7 separate regions of the Homo sapiens genome follow, and regions 1, 2, 4, 5, 6 and 7 are each linked to region 3. Evidence: promoter capture Hi-C in 16 types of primary human blood cells and fetal thymus (Javierre and others, 2016). All regions are on one chromosome and are shown on one strand. Each heading gives the region's core, a stretch centred on a gene start or on the middle of the fragment in contact. The rest is flanking DNA. Distances are from core to core; before and after follow the strand shown.

Region 1 (2,700 bases), core at 80-2,579, 730 kb before region 3:
GTTTAAAGTGCAGAGGATAAAATGTTGGAAGGTGATCCAAACTTAGAAATGAGGATGACAATTTGCCAAAGCATAGAAAAGATTCTTGCTCAGTGTCCTAAGTTTTTTTTTTTGTTTTTTTTTTGAGATGGAGTCTAGCTCTGTCACCAGGCTGAAGTGCAGTGGTGTGATTTACGCTCACTGCAACCTCCGCCTCCCGGGTTCAAGCGATTCTTCTGCCTCAGCCTCCTAAGCAGCTGGGACTACAGGCACACGCCACCACACCTGGCTAATTTTTGTATTTTTAGTAGAAATGGGGTTTCACCATGGGGTTTTTAGTAGAAATGGGGTTTCAGCCTGGCGGCTGGTCTCGAACTCCTGACCTCGTGATCTGCCCACCTCGGCCTCCCAAAGTGCTGGGATTACAGGCGTGAGCCACCGCGCCCGGCCCTAAGCTTTATGGGAAGGCAAGATCAAAATACTCTTGATAAGCTGTTTACAAAGAAATAAAAGGTTAACTCTCAATATTCCTAATGTTTTAAATTATGAAGTACTAAGTAGTTTTACTATATTTTCATTTCTATATATATTTATAACCAACAGTAAGAGACTTTTTAATGTTTCACAAAAATATTTAAAGATCACAAAACAATTGTAAATTTCCCCATTAATTATTAAGTTTGTTTTGCATGGTTTCAGTTTGCATGACCATTTTTTACTGTCCCAGACTACTATGCAAACCAAGGACTGCCTGTATAGTATGATCACATATATTAGAACCTAAGATACAGTTTTGTTATCTCAAGGTGTTATTTAGAGGCTTTTAAGTTGTAGCTCTGATTTTATGACATAGTGTTTGTCCATACCTATGAAAGGAAAGCAACCCACAAATTATATATTATGGCTGCAGAAACCAAATTATTCCCAAATGATAGTACTGCAGGTAAAGAACTGGGCCTGTGGCATCAGAGAACACTGGAGTCAAATCTCGGGACCAACATTTACTTAGCTATGTGACTCTGAGAAAGCTTCAGTTTGGTAACCTATGCAAGGAGCACAGTAACGCCTCATAGGGAATTTTGATGATGAAGTGAGTTAGTGAATTTAATACTGAAGGTTCTACAATGTTAGCTATTGTGAACAATTGGTTAGCTGTGGTCCACCTCCCACAACCAAAATGTTTTTACATGGCAAACACATCTGTTCTCACAATTTTGAAAATTTTATAAAAGCAACTCTTTCATTTTAGAGTCAGGAAATATTTGAATACAAATCTTAGCTGGATTTCATTAGTTATAACAGACTGTATCTCCAGAGGTGATGATGAATTTGCTTACCCAGACTATTTGGGCAATAGTTTTCAGTGAAAAACCTGGTAATTATGTAATATGGTATTTCATGAATAGCCATGTCATTTGAATTTTTCATAAAGGAGATGGAAAATCTCTATTCTATACAATCTCAGTGAAAACTGATTATGTCAGAAGTGTTTTTGTTTTCCTTTTTTCCTTTGAAAATTAAGCAAATTTGCACTGGAAAGTGTAAACGTTATTCAATTAGTACACATGATTACAGATAAGGCTGTTTCCAAAACGCCCTTCAAAAGGAAAGGCCTCTGGATCAAATAAATATTGGATCAAAACAAAATGTACTGAATGTGTCTGAAGCTTGTTTTAGCAGCAAAAGTGTTATGATGAATAAGGTCATGCCTTTAGAACAGCCTTCAATCTGGACTCTGACAGTTGAGATTTAATATAAACATTTTCTAAGCCTAAAAAGGTAAGTCTACAGTGTCTTCACGATAGCATCTCCAGAAAACATCAAATAGAACACTGTCTCTTGCATGTGTGTTTCCTCCCTACACAACAGGAGTCCCCAACTCCCAGGCCTCTGACCAGTACCAGTTTGTGGCCTATTAGGAACCAGGCCACACAGCAGGAGGTGAGTGGCAGGCGAGCAAACATTACCGCCTGAGCTCTGCCTCCTGTCAGATGAGTGGCAGCATCAGATTGCCATAGGAGTGCGAACCCTATTGTGAACTGCGCATGCGAGGGATCTAGGTTGCAAGCTCCTTATGAGATCTAATGGCCCCAGACCACCCGCACCCTATCTGTGGAAAAATTGTCTTCCATGAAACAGATCACTGGTCCAAAAAAAGTTGGGGACTGCTGCTATACAGTACTACTTTCTATATTTAATACGTTTCTGCTGAAATCAATTGAATAGGAAATTGTATCCAAATTACATATATATTACACACATATGTAAATATATATTATACACATATAAATATATCATATCTATCTATCTATATATATTTCTCCCAGATAATTAAGTTTGGCCTGACAAAAAAATTACTAAAATACAGGTAATTTTGTAAAACTCCAACACTGTATTTTCACTCAGCTATTAAGGCTTAGAGTACCTTAAATGGTATTTGGATTTCAAAGAGCAGATGCTTAAACTGTTTTATTTATTTATTTATTTATTTTATTTTTTTGAGACGGAGTCTCACTCTGTCGCCCAGGCTGGAGTGCAATGGTGTGATCTCGGCTCACTGCAACCTCCGCCTTCTAGGTTCAAGTGATTCTCCTGCCTCAGTCTCCCAAGTAGCTGGGATTACAGGCGTCTGCCACTGCGCCTGGCTAATTTTTGTATTTTTAGCAGAGACAGAGTTTCACCATGTTGGTCAGGCTGGTCTCGAACTCTTGACCTCAGGTG
Region 2 (2,700 bases), core at 177-2,676, 750 kb before region 3:
GATGGTCCGTCACTTTCTGTAGTAATTCATTTAACTAGGACCTTTTAGAAAATGTTGCTAAGATTGATTTGATAATAATTTACTAAGCGTTAATCTGGTTGATTCCACGATACATAATTAAAAATTCCTAAGGCTATAATAACAGCTTTACTTCCTTTCCTCTTTTATTATTTTAACTTTACATAAATGGTGAGAATTATAAAGGTTATCAATATGTTAAGCTGTCATTAGCATGACCTTCTGGTCTGGTGATTATTCTGAATTCCACATTCCTTATATCTCTAATTTTTTTTTTTTTTTTGAGACAGTGTCTCACTCTGTCACCCAGGCTGGAGTGTAGTGGTGCGATCTCGGTTCGCTGAAACTTCCGCCTCCCTGTCTCAAGGGATCCCACTTTAGCCTCCTGAGTAGCTGGGACTACAGGTGCCCACTACCACACCTGGCTAATTTTTGTAGAGACGGGTTTTCACCATGTTGCCAAGGCTGGTCTAAAACTCCTGAGCCCAAGTGATTCACCTGCCTTGGCCTCCCAAAGTGCTGGGATTACAGGTGTGAACCACTGCAGCCGGCCTCGAATCTCATAAATAGTAATCATTTCTAAGGTCAATGGTATTTTCTGGTTATTCAAAACTAAAGAGTTTAAGACAATATATGGTACTCTCATTCATGTATGCTAACTGACTTTAGAGTTGTAAGATGTGCACAGTGTGGATAAAGTAGCAGAAAGATTCCCAATGTGGGAAAAAGGGAAAGTGTTTTATGGGCTTTTAGTACATTGATATACCCTTCTTGACAGCAACATCAGAATGGAGCAAAAAACATAAGGATGTTCAACTTTTAACTGAGTGATCTCACTCTTGAGAAAAATGTAATAGATGAGAAGCTGAATGCATGAGGGTATTCCCAGCAGTGCTCTATAATATAACAAATAATGAAAAACTACCTCAGTGGACAAGAAGAGAAGTAGTGATTAATGTGATAACAGCATCTGAAACAAAATCTATGATACAATAACTTTAACAAATAAAAACAAGACTAGATAGCAACATGGAAAAGCTTGTGATATAATGTTCATGGCTTAAACAATGTAATGATAACAATATAAAGTATATATTCATGTAAACAAAAACCAGTCATACAAAAATGAAAACAGTTATTGTTGTTAACATTGATTATTAATTTTTAACCTTATTGAGATGTTATCTTTTTAATTAAACAGCAATAGGAGTTATTTATTAATCATACCAATTTCTTTTCTAAGTTCCAGTAGATAGTGCTACTAAATCCATTTGGAACACTAAAAAGAAGACTTGTGGGTTTTATCCGAGTTAGGTATCCTGATAAATCATTACCACTTTGGTGATTCACAGAATACTTCAAGGTACCTTCCAAGGAGGTCTAAAACAATAGGAAATCAGTTATGAAATTAAAAACACCAAGCAGTTTTTACTTTTTTTCTTCTTAGGTGTATATTTTGGCTATTACACCATTCCAACTCATTATCACTACCAATTTCCTCAAACACCTTTAGAACGTGAAATGCACTATCAGTTTCTACACCACATCTTTTAATCCCAATCAGTAGGCTGACTTCATGAATCAGATAAGGAAAGTATTAGAGATCCAAAGGCTGAGGTTTGCAAAAAGGAATTAAGGTAAAATGAAAAAAAAAATTCTATTTCAACGGTGGCAAACTCAAAGACTACAGGAGGGGCCAGGAGAGAATAGAAATGAGGATAGCAGGCTGGGTATAAGTAATAAGGAGGAGTGGTGACTGTGGCAAAGTGCGAAGCTTGCCCTAACAGCAGCAGCCACTACAGAGCTCCAACAGGTGTTGACATGCGTGAACGCAGACCTAGGGCTGCCAGATATTCAGAATCTTCCAAAAGAGGCCAGAAATACTGATGTTCATATAAAATCTCTTGAATTTTTAACTGTCAATAACTAACTTAAATAGTTTTATTTTTTATTTTCTGGCAATAGTCAAATAACAGCTGCCTTTAAGCTTACTTTGGTTTATGGGCTCCTTGTTTGCCACTTCTGCCCTATACTCACATGCAGGGATTCCTTAAAAGGATGATTTTTATTTGCAAGAATAATTTTCTCTATTTGCCATATGTCACATTTTCAAGTTAGGCCTCTTCATAGAACAAGTAAAAAGAATGAAAGGAAGGAAGGAAGAAAGAAAAATGCAAAATAGTGAAGCTAAGTGTGAACATGTTGGTAAGCATTAACCAGTGGGGGGCCTGCAATCTACAAGAACATTATACTAAGACCTAAATGTTCTTGAGGAGCAAAATCTTAGAAGGTTTTACTTTTATTCTCAATATAATGATTGAGGAGACGTTCTGAGTCACCACAAAAGGAAATCAGCCCAAAAGCCTTGTTATACATATGGCTCTCCCTTTACGGAAATTACATTAAAAACGATAAGAGAGAACTGGCCAAATCTGACCAAGATGGAATCGCCATGAGCTACCAAACTGCAAATAGGATCCAAGTGTGTGTGCGTTGTGCTTGTTGCTAATTTCCCTTTACCTATCCCATTCCTTCCAACTCTCATTTGCCATCTTTGGCTGTTAAATGGAAGTCTGTCATTCTAAGGAATATGAGTGAAGGAGGAAATGGGAAGCTAAGTGTAAGGAAGTTTTTACTTGACTTATAGGAATTTACACATCATCAAAGGTATACTCTGCAGCT
Region 3 (2,700 bases), core at 142-2,641:
CCCCACGCCAGGCTTGGCCTCCGAACCCGCTAGGCGCGCGCGCACGGTAGAAGCGCGCGCCTCCGTCCCTCGCGAGCGCGCCCCCCACCCCTCTCCGTCGCACGCGCCGAGCCCCGGCGCCCCCGCCCGCCCCGCGCTCCCACAGCCCGAGCGCCGCTCAGCTGACCCGCGGGCGCCAGACGCGGCGGCTCTCAGCTCGCGAGCGCAGCTGCGGCTGCGAGGGCCTCTCAGGCCGACACTCCCCCCGCGCCCCTCCCCCACCCGGCCGGGCTCCGGACCCGCCGCGCGCGAGCCCGCGGCCGCTTCCCCCGCGCCGAGCGAGGAGGCAGGCTGCGGCGGCGAGAGGCGGCTGCGCGGCCATGGGCGCGCCAGTGTCGCCCTAGGGCGGGCGCACAGACCACAGCCGGAGCGGTGGTGGCAGCCTCCGCAGAAAGCCTTCCCGGGCGGCGGCGGCGGCGGCCCCTGGAGCAGCGCGGCCGGGATGAGCGGGAGCTGCGCGGCGCCCGGCCCGGGCTCGGGCTCCTCCCCGGCCGCCTGCCGCTTCGCGCACTACTTCGTGCTGTGCGGGATCGACGCGGACAGCGGGCTGGAGCCTGACGAGCTGGCGGGTAAGGCCAGGGCTGCGGCGGCGCTGAGCCCCCTCAGGGGCGCGGGGGACGCTGTGGGGACGCGCGGGAGGCGGGGTGCAGGCTCCAGACAAAGTCAGCTCCCGGTGGCGCCCTCCCGCCGCTTTCTGGCCGAACTGGCGCTCGGGCGCGATTTAATGACATTGTTATTTATTCCGCGTGCGGGCTTTGCGGCTGCGCCCACCGGGGCTTTCGCCTCCAGGCGCTGGGTTATTAATAACAGGCGCGGGGGTGGCCCCAAGGGCACGGACCCCGCCTGGCGCGCCGGCCCCTTCGCTTGCAGCCGCACTCGGAGGCGGCCGGTGAGTCACCGGGCGCGCGGGCTGCCCCCCGACCGCCGTGCCTGCCTCCCACCCGCCAGCCACCCGGCCCCGGCCGCGAAGTTTCGGCCCCGCACGTGACGCGGCTTTCGGGCCTCTTCGGGAGACGGGGAGTCGGACTCAGCTCGGCTCCCGCCGGGGTAGCGTCCGCGGAGGAGCCGGTGGCCGTGCGGAGCGAGCGCGGGGCGGGGACCGGTCGGACTCTGCCCTCTGCGCCGCCTGCCGCTCTGCGGTGCCGGCCAAGTCACCTTTTGGAATCCTGTGGATTTGGCCGCGTCTGGGAGCTGGCAGGGACCTTTGGACGCTCGGGACCCAGCACCGCGCTTTGTTGACACTGCCTACACTGTTCCCGAGTTTAAATTCAGTTGGGTGCACCGTGTGTTAGTGCCTGGTTTTCCCGGAGGGGTACCGGTCCTTCCGCTTGACTCATTTGATGGCGCAGTGCGGGGCTGTGCTGGGCAAACGACGCCGTTAAAAGGGGCCGCTAAAGGGCGATGGGCGGGGGCAGGGCAGCGGAGTGCGCAGTGTCGAGAGGAGGCCGGGGAGAAACAACTGATTTCATTTTTCACGCCTGTTCCTTTCTGCTTGCCTCCGCGGGATCTGAATCTTGATTTGTTGTTGTTGTTAAATGGGTGAGAGAAGTGACATCTACCGCCTGAACTTTGTGTTAAAGACTTAGGTCATAGCCTTTCAGAACAACTTCCTTTGGACAAATAATTCCTTATTGATTGCACTAACGTAAATTTTTCGCTTTTCCTTTGGTGGGGGTGGGGAGACTGGGAAGAATATATTAAATAATAAACAATAGTAAACAAAACTGTTCAGCCTTAAAATACAGTCCCCATCAACCCACGTCTTGGCTATCTTCTTCTTAACTCAGCTTCAGAGCAAAACATTTTCTTTTTTTCATATTCTTCGGAGGTAGAAACACAAAACATTTTCAACAAAAACTGTAAGTCTAGTTTTAGTTAAAAAAAAATTTGGAGAGATAATAGAATACCAAGTTTTTCCGTATGTGTAATTATGTAATCACATTGTTTCTTCAACTAAGATTTCATGTACATGTTAAGAATGGCTTTGTTAAAGGATATGAAGAAAAAATGTCTGCAGAGAGATTTGGAGAGATTCTTCTCGAGATTGGTGAAGGAATATTGTTATTTTTCTAGACTCCTTTCTTCCCTAAAGATCCTAAACATTTGTGGCACCAGGGTCACTTGGAGGCCTTCTGTCAGTGATGACTAATGAAAGGAAAAAAGCCTGTATTTTTCTTTTCCGTTTGCCTACTGAAGCTAAAACTGTACCTTTTAGGTGTGACCTAGGACTCTTTAGGCACAGAGAGAATGATGTTAACAAAACCATCAATTAGACTTTAATGCATTTTTAAGAAACAAACTATGATGTCTCTTTTTGCAAAACTGTGTGAGTGTGGGTGATTGGGATTTCTGCTTCTCATAATATTTAATGTATTCAGGTAATAATGTATTTTGCCTTGTAATATTTCAGTATCATTCATCCAACAGTTTTGAAAGCATCTATCTGTAGTCGGTTTTTTAGGCACTGGGGACAGCTGTGAAGAAAGCAGTCAGAAATCCCTGCCATCATGGAGCATACGTTCTAGTGTAAAGAGATAATGAAAATACAATCATCTCTCCGTAACCATGGGGGATGGATTCTAGAGTGTCCCCCACACCAAAATCCTCGGATGCTGAAGTCTCTTATAATAAAATGTTGTAGCATTTGTATATAACCTATGA
Region 4 (2,700 bases), core at 195-2,694, 550 kb before region 3:
ACTCAAGCCTCTATATATGCAATTCAACTACTGTAGATTCAAAGATGGTCACAATAATTTATATACTCAAAGTTATGAAGGGTTAAAGAACTAATTATGAAAGACAATTTTTGTCCTTCTTCCCTACATAGGGAAAAATTTCTTAAAGACACAAAAATACATAACAAAGAGAAAAATTAATAAATTCAATTACATTCACCAAATTGAGAATTTTATCAAAGGACACCACAAAAAGAGTAAACTGCAGAGATGAAGATATTTGCAACACATACAAAGAATAAAGGACTAGGGGCCAGAATATATATTATACAAAGAACTCCTATAGATCATTTTGAAAAGACAGGTAACATTTGAAATGGCTGAAGACTTAAACAGGCATTTCATAAATTAGGAAATCGAAATAAAAATATGAAAAATTGCTCAAGCTTATTAGTAACTAGGGATAATGCAAATTATAAGTACCATAGGATACCATTATACACCCATCAGTTGAGCCAAATGTTAAAATCTGACAATATCCAATGATGGTGAGAATAGAGAATTCTCATACACTGCTGGAAGGTAAATAAATTGGTATGATCGCTTTGGAAAATACAGGCAGGTTGAAGATTGGCAATTCTACACCACCGTGATCACGCTCATAGAAATTCGCAAACATGTTCACCAGGCTATATGTACAACAGGTGCAGAGCAGCACTATTCATAATAGCCCAAACAATGAAAGCAAGTCAAAACCCATCAACTAAAAAATGGATAAACTGTGGTACAATCATACAATGGGATACTATACCATAACAAAATGAAATAACTAGCACTGTGTACAACAACCTGGAGAATCTCACACACACACAAAAAAAAATGTTAAATGAAAGAAAAAGCATTAAATAATATATGCAATATTATTCCATTCATGTAAAGTTCAAAAAGCAGACAAAAACTAAATTATGTGTGATAAAACTATAAAAGAAAATTAAGTAAATTATTACAACAAGTTGTGGACAATGGTTGTCTGGGACAGAGAAAGCTACGATGGAGAAGGGCACAAATGGAGATTGTGCGGTGCTTATGATATTCTATTTCCTTCATCTGGGTGGTGGCTACATGAATAGCAGGTTTATATTATTTGTTAAACTGTATATTCATGTTTGTGCACTTTTTCTGTATATATGGTATATTTCCCACAGGATGTTTTTCAGAAAGGTTATATAGACATATGAGACTAGATGGTCTGGTAAAAGAATGACAGGTGATAGACAAAAGGCAAACAAAAAATATAATCAGGAGGTAATAAGTGCTATGAAGAAAAGAAAAGCAGGATAGGGGAATAGGTTGAGAAGAGAGAACTATTTAACGGCTTGTAGCACCAGGATCTCCATAGTTAAGCCTCATGGAGTGCCACTGTGAACACAGCAAAGGCAATGCAAATTGAATGCACAATGAAGTTTCAAATTGTGCTGCATGCAAGATTTCATAAAGTCCACAAGAGATGGCTCCAACAACATCAAAAGTCCCTGACAGATAAAGATCTGGCAGCATTAGACTGTCAACAATTGAAGAAAAGAAAATAAGAAAAGCTGTCTATATTTTGGGTGCTTCATGAGAGAATAATCTTAATGATGAAATTTTTTTAAGGCTTAGAAAACTAATGAAGCCCTCAAATATGGTGTGAGATCTCTTTATAAGAATGCTGCAAGAGTCAGATGTGAAGCGAAGGCTGTTGTAATATGCCTTTTTTATAGAAAAACAATCATGCTATAAATAACAATAAAGCATTTTTAATTTGAAAAATTAGTTGACTGCTATTTTTATCTAGATAGATAGACCAATAGATAGATAGATAGATAGATAGATAGATAGATAGGATAGATAGGTGGGGTTTTTTGTTTTTTTTTTTTTTTTTTTTTTTTTTAGACAGAGTCTCACTCTTTTGCCCAGGCTGGAAGTGTGGTGACACGATCTCAGCTCACTGCAACCTCTGCCTCCCAGGTTCAAGCGATTCTCCTGTCTCAGCCTCCCCAGTAGCTCAGAGTACAGGCGCCTGCCACCACACCTGGCTAATTTTTGTATTTTTAATAGAGACGGGGTTTCACCATGTTGGCCAGGCTGGTCTCGAACTCCTGACCTCTAGTGACCCGCCCACCTTGGCCTCCTAAAGTGCTGGGATTACAGGCCTGAGCCATCACGCCAGGCTGTCAATAAACTTTTATGTTGACATACTTCAATAGAGTTTCAGTCAATCCCTCTTTTCCCTCCCTAATTTTTCCTATTTGAAAAGAATCCGCTCTCTCCTGTTTTGTTCAGCAAAATGTAAAACATTGATAAGATTTATACCTTTTTGAAAAAAATAGACTATGGTTGAGCCCATACATTCGATGAACATTTGTTCGTCACCTACTATGTGCTAGGCTCTGGGGAGAAACAAAAACAAATGAAACAAGAATCACCAAGACTCAAGAAGCTTACAACGAACGGCGAATAAAAAGGCTAGAAAACCACTGGCTTCGGGAATCTGTGGTAAGTGCTATTCAAAATGGGTGTCCAGGCCAGGCGCGGTGGCTCACGCCTGTAATCCCAGCACTTTGGGAGGCTGAGGCGGATGGATCATTTAAGGTTAGGGGTTTGAGACCAGCCTGGCCAACATGGTGAAACCCCACCTCTACTAAAAATAGAAAAATTAGCTGGGCGTAGTGGCGGGCGCCT
Region 5 (2,718 bases), core at 126-2,625, 600 kb before region 3:
TCAAAACCACAATGCATAGTGACATTCTTTCACAAACTTGTCAAGCTGTTTGCCCAGGTGAGCAATATATTGTTTTAATAAGACAACTGTTTGCCCAGATGAGCAAACTGTTTGTCCTGATAAATTGATTTGCAAGACTTTCCTAAAGCAAACAGTGAATTTATTTATTAATTTACTGTCTTATCTTCCTGGGCACGAATTTCGTGGAACAAAGAGTTAAGTTATATTGACATGGGTGGGCTCAGTTTTAATACTTCACAAGAAAAGACCTGACCTAAAGTCAGAAAAAAGAAAAGACCTGGAATTTTAGAGGTGGGTGATTAATCTAAGCCCATAAACTCACCATAGAAGAAACCGAGATCCAGAGAGTTCAAATAACCTGCCCAAATTCACTGAGCCAGTTAGTGAGAGAGCAGGCAACATAACCCAGATATTCTGGCTCCTAATCCAGTGTTCTTTCCATTATATCACTCAGCCCCTATTTTGAAGTCTTTTGGACCTCAAGAAATAAAGTATTTTATAACACCTCTAAATGGTTTCCAGGATCTCAAACATTTCCATAAATATAATGCAGAGATTTAAGCAGAGGCACGACATTTGCAAAGTTGTCAAGTCACATCTCACACACTTCACGATGAAAAAAATTCAGAAATGAATATGGTATTTTATTTTACATCATTAAAGACCACAATTATACTTTGGCAAAAATGTCCATTCCACCATTTGGTTTTCTGCACTCCATATTTGGAAACAAATAAAAAATAATAAAGAACTTTGACCAGCACTCCAATGTCACAACTGTCCCCCTGAAACACCATATAAAGACTTTCTGTTCATTTTATGACTCTTCATCATCTAGAAAGTGTGAAATTTAGACATGTTGGTTTTATGTTTAGATTGCTGAGACAGTGGAAAGATTTATAATACATCACGTAGCAAAAAGCTTCCTACTGCTTAAGGTTCTGTGGTCCAATACGGTGGCCACTACCCACATGTGACCACTTAAATTTAAATTAATTAAAGCAAAATTCAAAAATCAGTTCTTCACTCATATACTTATATTTTTATAGTAGAAATGGCTGTGTACTTTCAGCAATGTTTTAGGGGTATGTTGTATGTGGCCACCTCACTATTGAATGTACACCACTCTAGTAAATGTGCATCATTAAATAAACCACAAAGCAAGGTCAGGATAGGGTAACACAGTAACGAAGAGCCACAGAATCTCAAGTGTTTTAATACAAAAAAGTTTCATTTGTTCTAACCATGTTCAAGGCAGATGTTTCTGGCCAGGTGAGGTTCTCCTGGAAACATTGCCTCTATGCAGCAATTTGGAGAGACAGGCTCAAGGAGTTGGGGGAGAGTGGATTTTGCCACGTTTGTGAGCTAGGTCTGGAAGTGCCACACGTCATTCCTCCTCATAATCAACTGGCGGTGTTTAGTCTCCTGGCCCCACACAGATGCAAAGGGGTTGAGAAGGCCATCTTCCTATCAACCCAGGGAAAAGATGAAATGGCGTGGTGAGCACAGTGCACTGTCTTTGCTACTGAAGTGGGCCATCATCTGGACCTCATCACACAAACAGATGAGAATTTGTTTATGGCAAGTCTCAAGATTTTGTTAACTGTGGTGGATTCACCACCCCTCAGCATAAAAGGACTATAGATCCCTGCGTCATTGATGCCAGGAGTGGCTGTCTGATTTGGGAGCCCCTCTCCTGCACGACTGCAGGTCCCCAGAGCAGCCGTCTGACTTGCTTTGTAAAGTGTGAGTGCCATGACATGTGCTGCTTTGAAGCTGAAGCTTTAAGAACCATTGTGTGTGTTCCCATTGCGTTCTTTTTCTGTCTACTGAAACACTAGCAAAGCCTCAGGGAGAGGATGTTCCTTCAGCCCATATCTCAGAATGACAGTGACATGGAATAGTGTCTTAGTTACCTGCAATGAATGTACAGCATGAAAGACAAACCTTTATTGTTGTAAGCCCTTGAAATTTTGGGGTTTGTTACCACAGCATAATTTAGTCTAAGCTGACTAATAATGTATAATGTAATAATTTCAAAACCATAGCAGTGGATGTGGCTCTTTTGAAATAATCAAGAGTATAAATTGCTTATGATTTGTGATTAATAATAAAACATTCCTGTGAGTGGTAGAGAATATGACAAAAGCAATAATTTAAATTAGGTACAACCTTTCCTTTAGACTTCTTTGCTTGTGAAATTACCTCCCAGGTCATGTGAAAGGGGCTCTACCAGTGGCTTGAAGATGGCAGAGTCTCTGCTTCCCCTGCCAAATAGTGAAGGCTGTGGCAGGGGTGGAGTTCTTGTGGGGTGGTTATGCTCCCATGGTTTCTGGTACTATTGGTCCAGGTACATAAAAGGGTAAAGAAACATCCATCTGGACACAGCTTACACATAAAACAGGTTCCTACCAACTGATTTATAAAACACCTTCTGGAATTGAACATATCATATTGAAAACCACAAAATTGGTTCTGTAGGCATATAGCTAATAAGAACTAATTTTGTCATGTGCTTATAGCTTTTCTATTAAACCATAAAACACATTTTATGAGTTGAAGAGAGAATTTAGGTATCATAAACTTTGAAGGAAGATCAAGAAAGCAAAGCTAAAAGATGACTTAGTTGTAATTCATCCACCTTTTTCCAAAGTTTCAGGCGAAAGGATTCCTACCATCCTCACTTTGTTTTTCTGA
Region 6 (2,700 bases), core at 146-2,645, 790 kb before region 3:
CAAGGAATCAGGGCTAGGAGCAATTGTGTGGGCAGCACTTGATGGTTAAGGAGCCCGAGAGTGTTAGACCTTTCAGCTCAGTTAGCTGTTTTCCTTGTTTGTCAGATTATGTGCAAAATAAATTTTGCTATGAAAATCCACTGCCTTAAATCAAGTCATAAAAGTTACCCAGCAGAATCTGTAAATTAACCAGGAACATGTATTATCTCAAGATAATAGAATGTTTGTAGGCACCTGAGTGTTTGTCAAAAGTAGACAATGAGCTAAGGTTTATTATCTATTGTTTTTTTGGCAAGGAAGATTCGTTATGAAAAAAACTAACAACAACAAAACATACAATTTTAATCAAACTTTGAACACTCTCTGGGTAAATTAATTAATTAAAGGCTATCTTACATCTATATATGTATATATTTTCCCATTTGTACTTGATACCTTTTATCAGGAAAGACTCAGTAGGACCCTGATTTTGGGAGAAGTAAAAAAAATTCTGGTCATTAAATAAACACACCATTTTTTTCCCTTCAAGTTATTGAGCCTTCTTTAACGTTATCACACACATACACACATACAAAGGAGCAGCACCAGTACATCTACTCAACTGCAATGAAAAAATAAAAGTAAAGATGCCATCAAAACTTGAATAAGTCAATAAATCATAACTTAGTCTCTTTCTTAGATTTACTTAGTAATGTCCAGTGAAGAACTCTAGTTAAAAATACAAAAACAAAACCCAGCAGTTAATGAGCTACTGATTAGAAAGTAAGTGCCTAAACAATACCAGCGTAGCAGCAAAATACAGTTATTGTTAACATTCTGATGCACCTCATTTATCATTTTGTGCAAGAAAAATGACCACAGTCTGGCCAATTCCAGATTTCAAACTAAATTCAAACTCATACTTAATTGAGCAAATTATGCTTATTTGAAAATAAATGAATTAAATTCACCTCAGAGAAATTATTTGTATAGACATAAATCATGTAGCAAATAAAGTACAAAATAAATATCAATGACAAACATATTGGAATCAACTTCCCTAGCTGAATTTGGAGTGTGAGGAAAGATGATACTGCAATATACGTATTTTACATGTCTTAGGTCTCTCTTATGCTATCGAGGTAAAGCCAGCCATCTGAGACACGTTTTCTGTTTCTTTTTTCTTTTTTTTAAATTTAAATGAACTGTAGCCATTTGATGGCAGAAGTTTATCTGTGACTCAGAGAAACCACAAAATGTTTTATCACATCAGGGTCTGTGCTTCGTGTTCTTCTCAACTTTCTCTCGTCTTCCAAAACGATGGACATTAATCCAATTGTACATCTAACAACCGAGAAGAAAACACCCGCTGGATCTTGGGCAGTATCCTGTGTGTGGCTACAAAACTTCCACCCCAGATGTTCGTCCACAGGAGATGAAGACTAGGGGTGAGGAGGCTTGGAGAGACAGTGGAGAGGGGCGCACTGGGAGCTGGAATGTGGCTGCTCCTCAGGGAGAGCTGTGTCAGGACTGGAAAGGAGAAACAAGCACGTCAGCAAGAAACACATTTCAAAGGGCCAGGCACAATGGTAGGGGTTAGACGAGATATTTTTGCATAGATTTTGAGAACAAGAACAGAAATCTGCACAGTAAATGGTTTCCATCTAAAGCATGCCAAGATAATGGTAGCTTTTCAAAACAAGGCATAAAAAAGAAAAATGAAATGTATTAAGGAAATGATATATGCACTCTTCCCTCAAAGTCACTCTTCTCTTTTCTTGTTTTCCCTATTTTCTTGCCCCCAGCATTTTACAGAAGTTCTTCTCAATTTTTGCACGGTCTTGTTCTCCTAGGTCTCTGTGTTAGCTGTAAGATTTCATGAGATCAGTTCTTTTCAAACTTTAATATGCATGCAAATTACCTGGGGAGCTCAGTATAAAGGGCAGATTCGGATTCATTAGGTGTGGGGTGAGATCTGAGATTCTACATTTTTAATGAGCTCCCAGTGATGCTGATGGTACTGACAGGTTGACCAAGGCTTTGGAGTTTAGAGGATTCTATAGTTATCTGGTAGATCCAGATTCACTAGGATAAAGAATTTGCCTGTGGAAGTCTAATTTGCTCTAAGAATTCCCCCTACCTGCTTGGGCTTGGAGGTATAAGGAAGAGTTTTATATTTCACCCCCCCCCCCCTTTTTTTTTTAGATGGAGTCTCGTTGTTTTGCCCAGGCTGGTGTGCAGTGGCTCCATCTCAGCTCACTGCAGCCTCCGCCTCCCGAGTTCAAGCGATTCTCCTGCCTCAGCCTCCCGAGCAGCTGGGATTACATGCATGCACTACCATGCCCTGCCAATTTTTGTATTTTCAGTAGTGATGGGGTTTTGCTATGTTGGCCAGGCTGGTCTCGAACTCCTGACCTCTGGTGATCCACCTGCCTCGGCCTCCCCAAGTGTTGGGATTACAGGCGTGAGCCACCGAGCCCAGCCTAACATTTCCCATTTGTTAAGTGTATAATGTAACTTTCCAAACGACGCCTGTGATAGCCTCTAGTTTAAATGAACCTGTGCTCAGGCCTATCAGGGTCTGGATGAATAATCTTGAAGAATAAAGAAGCAAAATCATTGAGTTTCCTAGGGTAAAATGACAAAACACATTTGGGTTTGGGCCTTTTAAAATTTGACTAGCGGCCGGGCGCGGTGGCTCACACCTGTAATCCCAGCACT
Region 7 (2,700 bases), core at 60-2,559, 700 kb before region 3:
CCACAGGGATAAGGAGAGGAGCCTATTCGTTTGATTTTATGTCCTTCTGGATCATTTCAATTTTTTTTTTAACAACAAGCTTGTATTACCAGGACTTATGTGTAAAGTTACAGGATATAAATCAATCAATTAAGTAAAATATTTAACTTTTTCCATAAACTTATATGGCAAGTATAAGCTATGTTTTAGTTCAAAATGTATAATGACCACATAACAGATATAAACATTTATACATGTAACATATTCATAGTCATGGAAAGATGGGATATAAAAGTTTTCTTTTAATTAAGGATTAATTAGATTTGTTTCCTATTCAAACAAAGAGAAATATGGGAAGAAGTATCATAGAAACCAAAAACCACATTTTCTTATGTAATACCTAGATATCCATATGCGAAAAAAATAAGTCATGATGCATTTGGCCTTCACACCATAATTTGCAGAGCCTTGATATAGTGGTAGGTAGGACTGACAATGAATAGAAACTGCTATTGCAACACAGATGAATCTCACTAATATATTGACTGAAATAAGCCAGATGCAAAAGACTACATACAATATGATTCTGCATGTAAAGTTCAAAAACATGCTATGTAGGTTCAATTGTCTCCCAAAAAAGACATGTTGAAGTCCTAACTCCCAGGGTCTTTACAAAGGCAAAAATTAAAATGAGATCATTAGAGGAGGCCCAATCCGATAGGGCTGCTGTCTTTATAAAAAGGGGAAATTCAGCCACACAGAAACTGACACATACTTCTGCATGTGGGATGGGAAGACTATGTGAAGAAACACAGGGAAAAGATGGCCACGTGACCATGGAGGCAAAGACCGAAGTGACCCATCTACACGCCAAGGAACATCAAGGATTGCCAGCAAACACCAGAAGCCAGGAAGGGGCAAGGAAAGGCCTTTCCCTAGAGCTGCCAGAGGGAGCATGGCCCTGCCGACACCATGATTTCTGACTTTTGGCCTCCAGAACTGTGAGACGATAAATTTCTGTTGTTTTAAAGCCACCCAGACTTTGTTACGGCAGCCCTAAGAAAAGAATACCTGGGCAAAACTAATCTACAGTGACAGAAGTAAATGCACTGTTATCTTTGCAGGAGGGTAGGGTGACATCTGCAAGCACTAGAAACATTTTAAAGGTCTCTATCCTAACAGAGAGCCAGCTCTAGAAGTATACCTGACTTTCCGACATATGCTTTCAAATGTCTCTCATCTTGCTTCATAGTCCACAGATTTTTTTTTTTTAAAGACATGTTCTCACTCTGTCACCCATGCTACAGTGCAGTGGCATGATCACGGCTTACTGCAGTCTTGACCTCCCAGGCTCAAGTGATTCTCCCACCTCAGCCTCCTAAGTAGCTGGGACTACAGGTGTACACCAGCACAACTGGCTCATTTTTGTATTTTTTGTAGAGATGGTATTTCACTATGTTGCCCAGGCTGGTCTCAAACTCGTGAAGGCAATCCTTCTGCCTCAGCCCCCAAAGTGCTGGGATTACAGGTGTGAGCCACTGTGCCCAGACTTCTACAAATTTAATATATATTTTTTTTTTTGGTAGAAGCAGGGTCTTGCTCTGTTGCCCAGGTGCCTTAATCACAGCTTATTGTAGCCTTGACCTCCCAGGCTTAAGTGATCCTCCCACCTCAGCCTCCTGAGTAGCTGGGCCTACAGATGCACACCATCACGCCCAGCTAATTTTTAAATTTTTTATAGAGGTGGGGTCTCGCCATGTTGCCTAAGCTGGTCTCGAATGCCTGGGCTCAAGCAATCCTCCTGCTTTGGCCTCCCAAAGTGCTGGGATTATAAGCGTGAGCCACTACACCCGGCCCATATTCTATAGATGTTAACTGTAAATAACTCCCTTTGTCTCTGGTTTTCAGAGGCATGTTCAGTTGTCTATTTGAACATGGTGATGTTTTTTCTTCTGACTTGACTCCTGAGTACAGCTCTTCCTAGTTCTGTTTATGCATATGTGAAAACAACAAATTATAAACACATAATCTTTCATGTAAAAAATGAAAAATTCAACTCCAAAATCACTGATGCAGTTCCAGCTAATAAAATAGGCAGACACTGTAATCTCTAAGTAGTGGCGTTAGCTCAGAGTTTTGGGGAGGATAAGGGGTTGTTGACTGTGGTGTAAAGACAGATGTTAAAAAAATTATTCTGACACTTGTTAAAATGGTAAGGAAGACTTCATTCAAAACCATTGCAATTGGAGGGGGGAAAAGAAGGGGCTCAACTCTGAAACAGCAAGAGCAAGTGAAGATTTATAGCCAAGAACAGCATGAGGATGTCAAAGGATGGGAAATTGCTAAAAGAACACATCAAGGGCAGGGGAATTCTTGCTAAGCTGGCCTAACAGGACTCTTGCTAAAGGCAGTCCAAGGACTTAGACATCAAAAAGGTGGAGGATGAAGAACTTGATCAGATATCAAGGGTAATTAGATATCTAGGGTTGGGAGATGACTTAGCAGAATTCCTTGCTAAGGCTGGGCTGGGCAAGCCAAAGCTGGGGGTGGAGCAAGCTTGAAGCCTGGTCCAAAAGAGACATTAGCAGAGCATGACTGAAGCTTGGTTAAGGAGAGAGTCTTTGACACCTCACAGTCATGAACTGCAGTCTGATAGGAATGAAAGCTAAGAAAGTTTGCAAGACACTTTACCTGGTGATAATATGAATATAGATCCTAACT

Evidence for each region. The method cuts DNA at HindIII sites, captures the fragments that hold promoters and counts their contacts. A CHiCAGO score of 5 or more calls a contact.
Region 1: a contact is called between a fragment that was not itself captured here and the fragment with the promoter of DENND5B-AS1 in region 3, in 7 of 17 cell types (activated CD4 T cells, total CD8 T cells, naive CD4 T cells and 4 more). The highest score is 8.0, in activated CD4 T cells.
Region 2: a fragment that was not itself captured here is called in contact with the fragment with the promoter of DENND5B-AS1 in region 3 in 4 of 17 cell types (activated CD4 T cells, naive CD4 T cells, total CD8 T cells and 1 more); the score reaches 8.4 in activated CD4 T cells.
Region 4: a fragment that was not itself captured here is called in contact with the fragment with the promoter of DENND5B-AS1 in region 3 in 1 of 17 cell types (neutrophils); the score reaches 5.2 in neutrophils.
Region 5: a fragment that was not itself captured here is called in contact with the fragment with the promoter of DENND5B-AS1 in region 3 in 1 of 17 cell types (neutrophils); the score reaches 5.5 in neutrophils.
Region 6: a fragment that was not itself captured here is called in contact with the fragment with the promoter of DENND5B-AS1 in region 3 in 5 of 17 cell types (activated CD4 T cells, neutrophils, non-activated CD4 T cells and 2 more); the score reaches 7.6 in activated CD4 T cells.
Region 7: a fragment that was not itself captured here is called in contact with the fragment with the promoter of DENND5B-AS1 in region 3 in 6 of 17 cell types (neutrophils, total CD8 T cells, monocytes and 3 more); the score reaches 8.9 in neutrophils.

The regions. Positions count from the first base shown.
Region 1 is chr12:32,321,778-32,324,477 of GRCh38, reverse strand. All of the region lies in intron 4 of BICD1 (BICD cargo adaptor 1), which reads right to left. Among named protein-coding and RNA genes, the nearest start is that of FGD4, 76 kb to the left of the region's middle. The HindIII fragment of the contact is 639 bases long and covers 1,010-1,648 here.
Region 2 is chr12:32,339,065-32,341,764 of GRCh38, reverse strand. The region is part of intron 8 of BICD1 (BICD cargo adaptor 1); the gene reads right to left. Among named protein-coding and RNA genes, the nearest start is that of FGD4, 59 kb to the left of the region's middle. The HindIII fragment of the contact is 736 bases long and covers 1,059-1,794 here.
Region 3 is chr12:31,588,614-31,591,313 of GRCh38, reverse strand. It overlaps DENND5B-AS1 (DENND5B antisense RNA 1), which reads right to left and starts at 1,391. Exons shown (of 3, transcript NR_046909.1): 1 at 1,195-1,391. It overlaps DENND5B (DENN domain containing 5B), which reads left to right and starts at 178. Exons shown (of 21, transcript NM_144973.4): 1 at 178-608. The coding sequence starts at 482. RefSeq lists silencers at 28-317, 388-657, 808-1,147 and an enhancer at 1,578-1,657. The HindIII fragment of the contact is 7,998 bases long and covers 1-2,700 here.
Region 4 is chr12:32,141,615-32,144,314 of GRCh38, reverse strand. All of the region lies in intron 1 of BICD1 (BICD cargo adaptor 1), which reads right to left. Among named protein-coding and RNA genes, the nearest start is that of BICD1-AS1, 36 kb to the right of the region's middle. The HindIII fragment of the contact is 2,033 bases long and covers 428-2,460 here.
Region 5 is chr12:32,184,661-32,187,378 of GRCh38, reverse strand. The region is part of intron 1 of BICD1 (BICD cargo adaptor 1); the gene reads right to left. Among named protein-coding and RNA genes, the nearest start is that of BICD1-AS1, 79 kb to the right of the region's middle. The HindIII fragment of the contact is 860 bases long and covers 946-1,805 here.
Region 6 is chr12:32,376,349-32,379,048 of GRCh38, reverse strand. It overlaps BICD1 (BICD cargo adaptor 1), which reads right to left. Exons shown (of 10, transcript NM_001714.4): 10 at 1-1,509. The coding sequence ends at 1,422. Among named protein-coding and RNA genes, the nearest start is that of FGD4, 22 kb to the left of the region's middle. The HindIII fragment of the contact is 3,960 bases long and covers 1-2,700 here.
Region 7 is chr12:32,290,390-32,293,089 of GRCh38, reverse strand. The region is part of intron 2 of BICD1 (BICD cargo adaptor 1); the gene reads right to left. Among named protein-coding and RNA genes, the nearest start is that of FGD4, 110 kb to the left of the region's middle. The HindIII fragment of the contact is 2,456 bases long and covers 82-2,537 here.